3 separate regions of the Homo sapiens genome follow, and all the other regions are linked to region 3. Evidence: promoter capture Hi-C in human tissues and cell types (Jung and others, 2019). All regions are on one chromosome and are shown on one strand. The core of a region is centred on a gene start or on the middle of the fragment in contact, and the rest is flanking DNA. Distances in the headings are between cores, read along the strand shown.

What was found. Contacts are between HindIII fragments. The study calls those that stand out against the background at their distance.
Region 1: a contact is called between a fragment that was not itself captured here and the fragment with the promoter of NKX6-2 in region 3, in 2 of the 25 tissues and cell types used here (H1 embryonic stem cells and hippocampus).
Region 2: a fragment that was not itself captured here is called in contact with the fragment with the promoter of NKX6-2 in region 3 in 2 of the 25 tissues and cell types used here (H1 embryonic stem cells and mesendoderm cells).

The regions. Positions count from the first base shown.
Region 1 is chr10:132,693,298-132,695,997 of GRCh38, forward strand. The region is part of intron 5 of INPP5A (inositol polyphosphate-5-phosphatase A); the gene reads left to right. Among named protein-coding and RNA genes, the nearest start is that of NKX6-2, 91 kb to the right of the region's middle. The HindIII fragment of the contact is 5,717 bases long and covers 1-2,700 here.
Region 2 is chr10:132,670,913-132,673,612 of GRCh38, forward strand. All of the region lies in intron 4 of INPP5A (inositol polyphosphate-5-phosphatase A), which reads left to right. Among named protein-coding and RNA genes, the nearest start is that of NKX6-2, 110 kb to the right of the region's middle. The HindIII fragment of the contact is 5,981 bases long and covers 1-2,700 here.
Region 3 is chr10:132,784,875-132,787,574 of GRCh38, forward strand. NKX6-2 (NK6 homeobox 2) reads right to left here and starts at 1,273. Exons shown (of 3, transcript NM_177400.3): 1 at 669-1,273; 2 at 406-578; 3 at 1-296. The coding sequence starts at 1,074. The coding sequence ends at 42. The HindIII fragment of the contact is 14,696 bases long and covers 1-2,700 here.

The sequences.
Region 1 (2,700 bases), core at 87-2,586, 92 kb before region 3:
ATGGTAAATATTACTCCAACTATATCAACGATCCCTTTAAATGTGAATGGTCTAAATATACCAATTAAAGGACAGAGACTGTCAGAGTGGATTAAAAAAAATACCCAACTATATGTTGTCTTCTAGAAACCCATTTATATAAACACCTAAAGATTAATAGATAAGGGATGGAGGAAGGTATAGTGTTCTAACATGAATCAAAGGAAAACTTAAATGGGCCAAAAGAAAGCTGGAGGAGCTATATTAATTTATAGCATCAAATACATATATTAGAAAAGCAGAAAGATCTGAAATCAATTATCTAAGCTTGTACCTTAGGAAACTAGAAGAAAAGTAAATTAAACCAAAAGCTGGTTGTTTGAAAAAAACAATAAAATGGATAAACCTCTAGCCAGACTAAGAAAAAAAATGACACAAATTATTCATGTCAGAAATTATCAGAATAGGCAGAGCAGACTTCAGAGCTAGGAAAGTTTTCAGCAGTAAAGAGGGACATTACATCATGATGAAAAGATCAGATCTCCAAGAATACATAACAATCCTTAGTATCTAGCTGCCTAACAACAGAGTGTCAAATACACAAGGCAAACCAAGTAGAGCTGCCAAGAGAAACAGATGAACCCACTATCATAGTTAGAGACTTCAACACCCTGTATCAGGAATGAACAGATCTGGCAAGCATAAAATCAGGAAAGACATAGTTTAACTCAACAGCACCATCAAACAAATTGATCTAATTGACACTTATAGGATACCTCATCCAGTAACAGCAGAATCTACGTTTTTGTCAAGCTCGCCTGGAACATTCACTGAGACATCACATTCTGGGCCATAAAACACACCTTTACAAATTTAAAAGAACAGAAACCATATACAGCATGCTCATAGATTACAATGGAATTAAACCAGAAATCAGCACCAGAAAAGTAGCTGGAAAATCCCCAAATACTTGAACATTAAACAACACATATCTAAATAACATATGAGTCAAAGAAGTCTCAAGAGAAATTTAAAAATATTTTGAACCAAATGAAAACGTAAATACAGCTTAACATTCATGGGATATTAGCAAAAGTAATGTTTAGAGGTAAATTTATAGCATCAAATGCATATAAGAAAGAGCTAAAAAGAAAAAAGTGCTAAGAAGAAAGGAAGAAAGAGCTAAAATCAATTATCTAAGCTTCTACCTTAGGAAGCTAGGAGAAGAAAAGAAAATTCCAAAGTAAGCAGAAGAAAAGAAATAATGAAAATTGGAACAGAAAGCAACAGAATTGAAAACAGGAAATGAATAGAGAAAATTAGCAAAACCAAAAGCTGATTCTTTAAAGCGATCAATAAAATCGATAAACCTCTAGCCAGACTAAGAAAAAGAGAGAGAAGACACAGATTATTAATATCAGAAATTAGAGAGGGGCCATTACTGCCGATCCTGTGGACATTTAAAGGATAATAAAAGAATATCATTAATTTCTGCCTATAAATGTAATAACTTAGATGGGCCAATTCCTTGAAAGACACAATCTATGAAAACTCATAAAAGGAAAACTAGAGAATCTGAACAGGTCTATAGCTATTAACAACACTGAATAAGTAATTAATAACCTGCTGAAAAAGAAAGCATCAGACCAAATGGTTTCACTGGTGAATTCTATCAAGCATTTAAGGAAGACGTTATACCAGTTCTCTACAATCTTTTCCAGAAAATATAAGCAGAGGACAAACGTCCTAAATCATTCTATGAGGCCAGCATTACCCTAATACTAAAACCAGATAAAGACATTACAAAGAAGGAAAACTATGAACTGTAAACAAAAATGCTCAACAAAATTCTCAAGAGTCAGTTATATACTATGACCAACCGAGATTTACTCCTGGTATAGAGGCTGGTTCAGCATTTAAAAATCAATTAATGTAATCCATCACAGCAGCAGGCAAAAGAAGGAAAATCACATGATCATAGGATAGATGCAGAAAAAGCATTTCCCAAAATCCACATCTCTTCATTGTTTGAAAAAAAACTCCCAGCAAACTAGGAATAGAGGGGAAGTTCCTCAACCTGATAAAGAAGAGCTCCAAAAATCCTACAATGAATACCACACTTAATGAGAAATTAGATGCTTTTCCTATGAGATCAGGAACAAGGCAAGGATGCCTCCTCTCCTACTTCTCTTCAACATCTTACTGAAAATCTTAGATAATGTAATAAGACAAGAAAAGGAAATAAAAGCCATGTTGATGGGGTGATGGGAGATAGAACTATTTCTGTTCTCAGATGATATGATTATGTCAAGAATCTCAAAGAGTCAGCAACAATAACAGACAAACCTGGTACCAGTAAGCAATTATAGCAACATTGCAGGATGCCTAGTTAAGATACAGAAATCAATTGCTTTCCTGTGTAGCAGCAATGAACAGGTGGAATTTTAAATTAAAAACATAATACCATTTGCTTAAGCACACACCAAAAGGAAGTACTTAGGAATAAATCTAACAAATTAATACAAGATCTCTGTGAGGAAAACTATAAAACTCTGATGAAATAAGGAAGATCTAGATAAATGGAGAGAGATTTCATCTTCATGGATAGTTCTATGGTTGGAAAGTAGGTGCCCCCCACCCCCAAATTCATCTGCTGACCTCCTAACCCCTAAGGTGATGGTGTTAAGAGGCGGGGCCTTGGGAGGCTGATTAGAATGTGAG
Region 2 (2,700 bases), core at 25-2,524, 110 kb before region 3:
GGAGAAACTGCAAACGGCGGTGACGGCTTGACGGGCGTCACTTTTCCTTGGTCTTTGTCAGTCAGGTCTAATTTATAACAGGGCCATTAGTGGGAGATAGCTTTCTTTGGATGTCTTTTCCCGTAAGGGTTGCTCATGGTTTGGCCTCAGTAAAGAAAAGAGAAGGTCTCTCTTTCATATTGTTGGAAGCAGCAGGTGGCCCACTCCTTCTGGAGTGAGGCATGGGCATGTGGGCACGCCTCCATCTGTCAGGAGTGTCCCTGTCTCTCCCTTCTGATTGGGACAGTGGGTCACACTGGTGGCCAGTGGGCAACTGGGGCCCCTGGAGCCGTGGCCTCCCCTGGGCCCAAGGGAGGCACAGATGACTTAGGAGTGGAGAGTTCAAACGTGGGCTGCGGCGAGGCTTGTGCCCTCCCTGCTTCGGACTCCGCCCTCCCTGCTTCGGACTCCGCCCTCCCTGCTTCGGACTCCGCCCTCCCTGCTCTGGACTCCGCCCTCCCTGCTTCGGACTCCGCCCTCCCTGCTTCGGACTCGGCCCTCCCTGCTCTGGACTCCGCCCTCCCTGCTTCTGACTCCACCCTTTCTGCTTCGGTATCTACCTCCTTGCTTTGGAAGGACACAACCTTCTTGGCTGGCACAGCCCTTCCTGCCATGCCTGTTGATCCCATCATCAGCCAAGGATGTGTTGGGGCCGTATTCTGCGGCTCCTCCAGCATGGGAAGGTGCTGACAGGAAGCAGCACCAACACCTCCTGGAATAGCCGTTGGCACATGAGCTTCCTGATACTGTTTCATGTGCCTTACATGTGCCACCCATGCAGGGATCAGAGCAGCCCTATGAAGTGGGTACTGTTATTTGTCTTCCCCGTGTCACAGATAGAGATGTTGAGGCACAGAGAGGTTCAGGGACCAACCAGAAGAGGCCAATGTGGGATTTGAACTTGGTTCTGGCCTCAGAGCCTGTACTCTCAACCAGCCTGCTCTGCTCTCAGAAGGGGACAGCGCAGGAAAGGCCAGCTTCAGCCAGGGTGACGGTGGGGGTGGTGCTCAGGGTGGACAGCATTGATTAGAGGTGACTGTTGTCCAATATTCAGCTAAACTGTAGGTTTTAAAGCTTGAGGACAGGTTTCGTTAGAGGTCAAAATTCAGTAGTTCCTTTCCCAAGGATGTAGGGAGAGAACTACGTTTTGTTAAGTGGCTCTTATTGAGCATTGTGACATTCTTTTGCTAAAAACATGTTTGTGCATGTATACACTTGTACTAAGAAAATATCTTCATTTTATTTCCTTTTCCTTTATCATGTGACATAAGATTTATTCACTTCATATCAGCATTTAAGTATTGTCAACTTTATGAAATAATATTTGGGTTGGCGATTGGTTTTGAAATGTGAGGACAGGAGATCTGGGAGGGGTCGGGATGGAATAATATGGTTTGGCTGCGTCCCCACCCAAATCTCATCTTGAATTCCCACATGTTATGGGAGGGACCCTGCGGGAGGCAAGGGGATCATGGGGGCAGGTCTTTCCCATGGTGTTCTCATGGTGGTGGGTGGGTCTCATGAGATCTGATGGTTTTACAAAGAGGAGTTTCCCTGCACAAGCTCTTTCTTTGCCTGCTTCCATCCATATAAGATGTGACTTGCTCCTCCTTGCCTTCTGCCATGATTGTGAGGCCTTACCAGCCATGTGGAACTGTAAGTCCATATTAAACCTCTTTCTTTTGTAAATTCCTCAGTCTCGGGTATGTATTTATCAGCAGTGTGAAAACAAACTAATACAAGGTCTTTCCTAAGTTTGGAAAAACGTGATTTCTCATCTCTTCAAAAACGACTTCCACTCCCCCTCTGCATTCCCTCTAGGTTCCAGTTACATGTGCGTTGGACCCCACGCCTTCCACGCCCCACCCCACTCCCCTGGTATTGATGACTGCCTTCTTCTACTGTCCATTCTGTATTCCCTTTGCCTTCAGCATCACCTCAGCGGGTCGTGGTTTTTTTCCTGGTGGAATGTCCCAAACCTTCATTCCTGAGGGGTCTGGGTCACTTGTAGTCTTGCCTGGATTGGGCTGTTGTAGTTTCCCGTTGACCTTAATCACAAGGCATGGTAATACTATGGGACGCCCTAATGGATCTCCTGTATTCCATGTATACTCTTCCTTAGCTTCGTTGCAGAGTAGTAGACTGATTTCACCTTGATAGACCAGATCAATCACCCCAACAGTGTAACTCCTTTCTTAGCCTATTGACATAAAGGTAGGAGGAGCCCAGAGTATCCAGGTGACAATCTTAACTTCCAGTTCAGTGGGATTGCTGTTTGGTCTCGCGGTGGCAGCATTCTTCCCTCTGGAACTAATAACGCTAGGCCAGCAGAACGTAATGTTGCAGGAACAGGAAGCAAAACTTTTGCTAGTGGATCATTAGGGGTGATGGTGAGTGGTGCCACTTCCACTTCCACCCTTGATTCCCGGACCCGTGAATCCTGGCTATGGGAGAAACAGTATCATATATTGGACGCTGATTCAGAGCATCCATGGCCCTCTGGAGAACTTTGTCCCAGCCCTGCAAAGTATTGCCACCTAGTTGGTGTTGTAATTGTGACTTCAAAAGGCCATTCCACCATTCTGTCAACCCAGCTGCTTCAGGATGATGGGGAACATGGTAAGACCAGTGAATTCCATGAGCATGAGCCCCCTGCCACAC
Region 3 (2,700 bases), core at 23-2,522:
CGGATTCTGCAAAAATAGATTCGCCCCCACCCCGCGGGTCCTCACAAGGCGTCCCCCGCGCCGCCGCCGCACGGGCTGACCAGCGCCAAGTTCGAGGGTTTGTGCTTCTTGAGCAGCCGCGTGATCTTCTCGTCGTCCGAGTTGGGGTCCAGGGGCCGGTTGTATTCGTCGTCGTCCTCCGCGTCCGAGCCGCCCACCTTCAGCTTCTCGGCGTCCGAGTCCTGCTTCTTCTTGGCCGACGCCATCTCCACCGCGTGCCGCTTGCGCCACTTGGTCCGGCGGTTCTGGAACCAGACCTGGGAGTGGACGGGGCGGTCAGGCGGCCGCGGGGCCCGGGGCTGGCGCTGGGGCCGTTCGCAGGACGCGGGCCCCCGGCTCTGCTCTCCCGAGCCCCGCCGCGCTCACCTTCACCTGGCTCTCGGTCATGCCCAGCGAGTAGGCGAGACGCGCGCGCTCCGGGCCCGCCAGGTACTTGGTCTGCTCGAAGGTTTTCTCCAGCGCGAAGATCTGCTGGCCCGAGAAGGTCGGGCGCGAGTGCTTCTTCTTCCCGTCCTTGTCCAGGACGCCGCCGGCCGGGGCTGCAAGGGAGGGGAAGGGAGGGAGGTCAGCGGCCGGCGGGGTCCCCCTCCGCGCCCACCCGCCCCGCACCCCCCGCGCGGGCCACTCACCCGGGCCAGCCAGACGCGGGTCCCTCCAGGGCGCGCCCTGCACCACGCCGGGCCAGAAGATGGGCGGGCGCCCCGGCAGCTCGGCCAGGGGCTTGGGGTAGCCGCGCGCCACAGCGGCCGCGGGCCCGAAGTAAACGCCGGCGGACGACGCGAGCCCGTTGAGCCGGGGCAGCCCCCCCAGGAGGCCCCCGCCCGCCGCGCCCACGGGCCGGCCCAGGATGTCGCTGATGCCGTGCGGGGTCCCGAGCGGGAGCTGCGCGCCCAGGCCCCCCAGCGCGGGCGCCTTGAAGCCGGCCGGACCCTGCAGCGCGTAGGGGAACAGCGACGTCTTCATCTCGGCCATGTTGTGCAGCGCGGCCAGCGGGGCACTGCTCAGCACGAACGCGCCCGGGCGGTTAGTGTCCATGGGCGCCGCCGCCGCCGGCCCGGGCTCCCATCCGGGCCCCGCCGCCGCCGCCCCTGCCCGCCGGCCCGGGAAGTTTGCGCGCGGCCCGGGCGGGCGTCGGCTGCAGCGCGGGGCGCGGGGCGCGGGGGGCGGGCGGGCGGCTCCGGCGCGGGGCGGGCGGGCGGGCGGCGGCGGCGGCGGCTCCGGGGCCGGTCGGAGCGGCGCCGCGCGGGACGGACGCGCTGATAACGGGGGCTCCCCGGGGCGCGGCGCGCGCGCTGATTGGCTGCGGACCCCGCGGTCCGGCCATTGGCCGGCGCCCCCCCCCCGCCCGCGCGCCCCCGCCGGCCGCGCACTCCATGAAGGGCCCATTAGCGCGGCAGGTGCCTCCCGGGCTGTAAATTCGCCCCGATTTATCTCCCCGGGGACGAAATAAATCCAGCTTGGATGGGAGTGTAGTTAGGCAAAGGTTTTCATGCGAAATCAGGAAAAAATACGAGAACGTATTTTATTAACGGAAAGAATGCAGATTTGAGGACCCGCCCGCGCGCTCGGAGCGCCCCACTCGGGGAAGAGTCCCGGCCCGCGTCCCAGTCGCGACTGCTCCGCCGCCCGTGGCTGGGGTGGGTGTGAGCGGCAGCGGACGCCGGCGGGGAACGCGCTCCGGGCAGGTCGGGGCCACAGGAGGGCGGAGGACGCGGGCCTCGAGTCCACGGAATCCACGGGCCTCACGGCCGGGCGAGGCTCGCACGGAGCTGCCTCTGGTTTCGCCGACACGCGGCCGGCGCGGTGGAGGAGTGAGGCAGGCGGGAGCGGGGCGGGGAGGCGGGTCCCGGGACCACACGCGCGGCTCGGCACTTCCCCGTCATCGGCCTCCAGGTCTCCCGCTGGGGGTCCCCCAGGATGTGACCTGGGCCCACGACTTCGCCCACGGGCCGCCTCTCGCGAATCCCCGGCCGGGAGAACAGAGACCAGGACGGCCTCAGCGCGGAAGCCCTGTCCAGGGCCCGAACGTGGGTGCGGGCTGGGGGCGCAGCGGCAGAAACGCGGCCTTAGACGCGCGCGGGGGGCCGGTGTCCCCCCCGCCCCCACGGCACCGGGAGCCGCTCGCTCATCCATCCCGCAGACCGGGCGGTGAGATGACTCCGAGCCCCGCGCACGGCGGCCGCGAGCAAACGCTCCGACGTCTGTGGTGACGTCTCGTATTGATTTAGGGACACGGGGCGGCTGTGGCTGTGGCCCACGGCTCGTGGGGAGCCCGAGTCTGTGCGCAGGGAACGCCGCTGCGTGGCCTCTCTCGGGCCTGTGCCGCGGAGGAAGGCGGCGCCCGGGGTTCGGGGCCGGGGTCTCACGTCCGCCCCCTCGCCCCCCTCCAGCGTCCGTTTTCGTTTTGTGCAGGTCGAGGCGGGGACTTGGCGCCGTCGGCCGCTCCTGGATGGCGGCTTGGAAAAGCCACCTGCGGCCAAACTCCGGGGCAGTGGTGCGGCCGCCGGGTGTGTGCGCGCTCGGGGCTGCCCCGGCGGCTTCCGGCTCCACTGAGGTGCAGCCCCGCGTTCACGGGGGGTTCGCTTCCCCCGTCGACTCCGCACTCGATTCGACTGGGATTGGGATTCGATTGGGCGCGGCCGCCCCACCGGTGATCGGCCC